Regions from separate parts of the Homo sapiens genome. Here region 1 is linked to region 2. Evidence: promoter capture Hi-C in human tissues and cell types (Jung and others, 2019). All regions are on one chromosome and are shown on one strand. Each heading gives the region's core, a stretch centred on a gene start or on the middle of the fragment in contact. The rest is flanking DNA. Distances are from core to core; before and after follow the strand shown.

Region 1 (2,840 bases), core at 96-2,595, 210 kb after region 2:
GGCCGCTCTGCCCCAATCCTGCAGGTGCCTATCAGAGGCCTGTCTGGCACCTCTGCTTTCTTCCTCCATGGGTTCCGAACTCAGAGAGGAGACGCGGGATTACTCACCACTCCCCTCCACTCGCATGCATGCTCAGACACAAACACAGCCTCTCTGACGTGGCTTCCACGGAGCCCCAAAGTGGGAGAGCCAAGTGCAAACTATCAGGCCGCGGACGATCAAGAGCTCACCTGTCCGGCCGTCCAGTCGCCCGCCGGGCCGCCTTGAGGCTCCTGGGCTGCAGCCCTGATGCCTGGAAACTTTGGGACTGGCCTCTAGCCTCGCTGGGCTTCCAACCCTGTGGCCGAGGGGAGATGCCAAGATGCACAGTTAGCACCTCGACCCGCGGCTCGGTCGCCTGTCTGCCCCCGGGGCTGCCCGCCGGCTCCAGGTCCACTCGGGCCCACGGCCGCGACACTCAGGGCCGCCGCCTGCCCGGATGGGCTCCCTGGGGTCTGAGCGCGCAGGAGCCGCCAGCGCCGGGCCCGTAATTGCGTGCGCCCGGGGTCTGGCGGCCGCGGCTCGCAGACGTCAGGAGGCTCCGGGACGCGCACGGGCGCCGGCGCAGGGGAACGGGCGGGCCAGGGGCGGGCACGGCGGGCACCCCCACCCGGAGCGCGCCCCGCCCCCTGTCATTCGTGCCCGTGGCTCGCGGAGGCCGCCCGGCCCTGTCCGCTGCCAGACCTTGCCAGGGCCGCGCAGTACCTGCCGACCCCAACTTGCCCGGACGTTTCCGTCCCGCCCGCTCCGCTCGGGGGCGCGGGACCGCCGGCCAGTCCGTCTGTCGGTCTGTCCCGGCGTTCGAGGCCACCCACCGGCCCCGACTGCTCAGCGGCGGCCAGGCCAGGCCAGAGCGCCTGCCGCGCGCCGCAGCCCACCCGGCCCGGACGACGACCCCAGCGCCGACCCCAGCGCCGCTGGCCCCGGGCCGCGCGAGGCCTGCCGGGAGCTGGAGTCCCGCGCGGGTGGCCGGACCACAACTCCCAGGAGGCCCCGCGGCGGCGCTGCGCGCGCAGCCCCAGCCCATCCCGTGCGGACCCTACGCCGAGTCCAGCCCGGGGCTGCTGGGCCAGCGGGAGCGGGAACCGGACGGCGCTCGCGTTCTGCCAGAGCGGAGAACGACTCGGGGACGGTGCGGAGGACCAGGGGAGGAGATCCGCGCCCGCACGCACCATCAGCCGAGAGGACGGCCCGCATCGCGCCAGTGACCTAGGAGCGACTCGGGGACGGCTTCGGGCTCCCAGGCCCTCCTGGGCCACCGGGCACTGAGGAGAGCGGCGGCTGGAAACTGTGGGACCCGAAGGGCGGGAGCCCAGGGCCCGCCCCCGCCGGAGCGCCCCCGCCATGGCCACGCCCCCGCCACGGGGATGGGCAGGGCAAGCACCGGAAGTGCGTCACGCGGGAGCGTCTGCGTCGCCTACCCTGCGTGGCGCAGCTAGGTTCCGAGCGGCTTAGCCTCCGGGCGCCTGCGCAGTGGCGGTCCTAGAGACGCACTCGGTTGCCATAGAGACGGGGGCTTGGGAGCGACGTCGCGCTCGCTGGCACTGGCGGCACTTGCCGCGCCGCAGCCACCTCTTTCCGACTCCACCAGTGCGGGCCCTATCCGGGGTTTTGAGTCACGCAGACCTGGACACAGCGAGAAACGGCAGTCCGGGCCCGTCCTCCCGCCCCGGGTTCTGCACCCCAGAGTTGGACGCTTGCTTCTCGCTTTCTCCTGAGAGAAGTCTCCGCGTTTCTGAACAATGCACTGCTAGTTTCTCATTTCTTTCTTTCTTTCTTTTTTTTTTTTTGGAGACGGAGCCTCGCCCTGTCGCCCAGGCTGGAGTGCAATGGCGCGATCTCGGCTCATTGCAACCTCCGCCTCCAGGGCTTAAACTATTCTCTTGCTTCAGCCTCCCGAGCAGCTGGGACTACAGGCATGCGCTACCACGCACAGCTAATTTTTGCATTTTTAGTCAAGACGGGGTTTCACCATTTTGGCCAGGCTGATTTCGAACTCCTGACCTCGTGATCTGCCCTCCTAGGGCTCCCAACGTGCTGGGATTATAGGCGTGAGCCACCGCGCCCGGCCTCTCATTTCTTAATTGTAGACATTGCGTACTTCCGGAGAAGGTCCCTGAGAACCTGGCTGATCTTCCCCGCTGCACCCCTCACGTGGTCCTGTTAGCTCCCAAACTGTCAACCTGAAAGGAAACCCAGAGGCAGGCTCTCCAGGACAAGTGAGTTAATCTGGGAATCGCAGGGGGTTGCAGCCTAGGCTGTTCGTGCCATGACAGATCATAGGCCTATCTGAGAGGGCCGGGCGAAGGGGAAAATACAGATGAGCTCACAAAAGTTGTTTTGTAACAAAAACCACTGGCTGTGGGCGCTTGCTGCAGGAGTGGGCGTTAGCTTGTTGTTGGAGAGAGCCTTACCAGGCCGACGTCCTTGTGCAAGCTGCTTATCTAGAATACTGCAGTCCTGAGGAATTTCCCTGCAGTAAGTCCGGTTACAGGCAAACGTGCAGGACGTGCAGGAGCGTCTTGTGAGGAGGCCTGCTGCAGGTATTCCTGCATGAGAGCTCCCCCTTCGTGGCCTCCCGACTCCATTTGTTTAGGGATTGGTGGAAGTAGTTCCATTTTGGTACCTGCAACTTTCACAGCTGTCGTGATGAAATCAGGCTTAGCTCTTCATGATTGAGTACCTGCTGTTCACTGCTACAGTATAAAACCATGCCACAATTCCTGTACAATCTTTTTTTTTCTTTTGAGTTAATAATTACCTAATATTTTCACATATCTAGCTTTTTACTAACCCATGGC
Region 2 (2,700 bases), core at 163-2,662:
GCCTGGAATCCCAGCAGTTTGGGAGGCCAAGGCGGGTGGATCACCTGAGGTCGGGAGTTCGAGACCAGCCAGGGCAACATAGTGAAACCCCCATCTCTACAAAAAATATAAAAATTAGCTGGGTGTGGTGGTGTGTGCCTGTATTCCCAGCTACTCAGGAGGCTAAAGTCAGAGAATCCCTTGAACCCGGGAGGCAGAGGATCCAGTGAGCCGAGATTGTGCCACTGCACTCCAACCTGGGCGTCAGAGTGAGACCCTGAAAAATAAAAAAAAAATTGAAGATAAATTTATTTACCGTGTGTAAATAAACTGCACTGTAAAAAGAATACCTTTCACAGAATTCTAAAACATTAAATTCCAGTCTGTGACTGATGTAGGATGTTAAATTGCAGAGTTCATAAACTTTTATTTGAGAGAGAGTTTCACTCTGTTGTGCCCAGGCTGGAGTGCAGTGGCGCGATCTCGTCTCACTGCAACCTCTTTCAAGCAATTCTCTTGCCTCATAACTTTCTGAAAAGGGAGGAGCAGTAGGTCTAAATGGAATTCATTCTGCTGCTCCTACTTTTGTGAAGCAGTACTTCTAGTAAATATTTTATAGAGAAACATTTAATGCAAGTATGTGTTTCCTTTCTGAAACTGCTGATGTGAAGAGTAAGAGAAAAAGAGGCAGACTTCTCAGGAAAAACCACGTCTTCAGTATGTTTTTAGGTTTTGTCCATTTGATGTAAGAGCTTTCTCTTACTCTTGTTTGCTCTGTCAAGCTTTAGCTGTTCTTCAGAGTGTCGCTGTACAGGAAGCTGATGACATTCAGTACATACCTAAATAACAGTTTATAAGCTGGGTATGGTGGTGCGCGCCTGTAGTCTGAGCTACCCAGGAGGATCACTTGAGCCCAGGAGGTTGAGGCTGTATAGTAAGCTGTGATTGCACCACTGCACTGCAGCCTAGGTGACAAAGTGACACCTTCTCAAAATACAGTAAAATAAAATAAAAAACAACAGTTTATTTTTCTGACTCCAGTGCAAGGATGAAGTCAAGTATTTCCTTTTAAACGGCCAATTACATGTTTAGAAAGCCCACCAGGATTTGGAGAGAGAAACACCAACATAATTTTAGGCAACTTGTTCCTGAACTTGAGAAAAAATAATGGAATTCTCTGAGATTTACAGCCAAAGAGAAAACAAAGTATCCTCTACTGTAAGAATTTTAAATCTTAACATTTAAAAGATCTTACATAGGTGAATAGGGAAGACTTAGATTTTTTTAATAGTTTGCTCTGATCAGACTTGTTTAACATGTCCCCTCCACCAAAATTAATCAAATGTGTTCTGAAATATTTAGTTTGATATAAAATTATTCTCTGAAATATCTATTTAAATAAAACCAAAAGGTATTCAAATTTTGCCTGACTTAATACTTAAGCTTCTGCTGTTCATTTTAAGTCAGCATGGTTTTTGGCAAGTAAAAAAGAAAAGCAAAGTGTTGTTATTTAATAATAATCTAACTGGGTTTTTGGGGGGGTTCAGAACACTCTCAGCTCTTTACCACCTGCTTTTGAGACTATATTTCATCTTATAGAAATCAGATTTTTTTTTTTTTTTTTTTTTTTTTCTGGAGACAGTCTCGCCCTGTTCCCCAGGCTGGAGTGCAGTGGCGCGATCTCAGCTCACTGCAAGCTCCTCCTCCTGGGTTCACACCATTCTCCTGCCTCGGCCTCCTGAGGAGCTGGGACTATAGGCGCCCGCCACCACACCCGGCTAATTTTTTGTACTTTTAGTAGAGATGGGGTTTCACCGTGTTAGCCAGGATGGTCTCGATCTCCTGACCTCGTGATCCGCCCACCTCGGCCTCCCAAAGTGCGGGGATTACAGGCATGAGCCACCACGCCCGGCCTAGAAATCAGAATTTTAAAGTTTACCCTGAAAATGTCTTAAATAGTAGGGTGATTTGGCATATTTGAAGAAATTTTGTTTTTCTGACAGCTATAAGTTGTTCACAAATAGTGGACTTGGATCTATTCATAGCAGATGGAAAGAGCTTGTATGGCACAGGTGAAAGACACCCAAATTTAAAAAATTAAGGCCAAAAGGAACTGTTGCACCTCCTTCCGAGGTTTGGACCCTGTCACGTTGTGAATTCCCCAGGGCCTTCTTGCACAGGGGGCTCCCTCTTGGGCTGGCACAAATGTCACGTGACATTCCCCACATGCTCTTGTTGCCACATAAAAAATGTAAAAAGAGGTCGGGCGCGGTGGCTGACGCCTGTAATCCCAGCACTTTGGGAGGCTGAGGCATGTGGATCACAAGGTCAGGAGATCGATACCATCCTGGCTAACACGGTGAAACCCCGTCTCTACTAAAAGAAAAAAAATACAAAAAAAATTAGCCAGGTGTGGTGGTGGTGGGCGCCTGTAGTCCCAACTACTTGGGAGGCTGAGGCAGGGAATGGCGTGAACCTGGGAGGCGGAGCTTGCAGTGAGGCGAGAGCGCGCCACTGCACACTCCAGCCTGGGAGACAGAGCGAGACTCCGTCTCAAAAAAAAAAAAAAAAAAAGTAAAAAGAGAGACGGCCAGGCACCGTGGCTCATGCCGTTAATCCCAGTACTTTGGGATACCAAGGCAGGAGGATTGCATGAGCCCAAAAGCTTGAGACCAGCCTTTGTAAGGTAGAAAGGCCCTGTCTTTTGAAAAAGAATGAAAA

What was found. The method cuts DNA at HindIII sites, captures the fragments that hold promoters and counts their contacts. A contact is called where the count stands out against the background at its distance.
Region 1: the fragment with the promoter of MIB2 here is called in contact with a fragment that was not itself captured in region 2 in 2 of the 25 tissues and cell types used here (bladder and spleen).

Annotation. Positions count from the first base shown.
Region 1 is chr1:1,614,005-1,616,844 of GRCh38, reverse strand. It overlaps MIB2 (MIB E3 ubiquitin protein ligase 2), which reads right to left and starts at 1,345. Exons shown (of 20, transcript NM_001170687.4): 1 at 1,212-1,345; 2 at 231-337. RefSeq lists silencers at 411-500, 531-1,580 and an enhancer at 1,681-1,850. The HindIII fragment of the contact is 4,042 bases long and covers 1-2,840 here.
Region 2 is chr1:1,822,154-1,824,853 of GRCh38, reverse strand. All of the region lies in intron 3 of GNB1 (G protein subunit beta 1), which reads left to right. Among named protein-coding and RNA genes, the nearest start is that of NADK, 45 kb to the right of the region's middle. The HindIII fragment of the contact is 4,641 bases long and covers 1-2,700 here.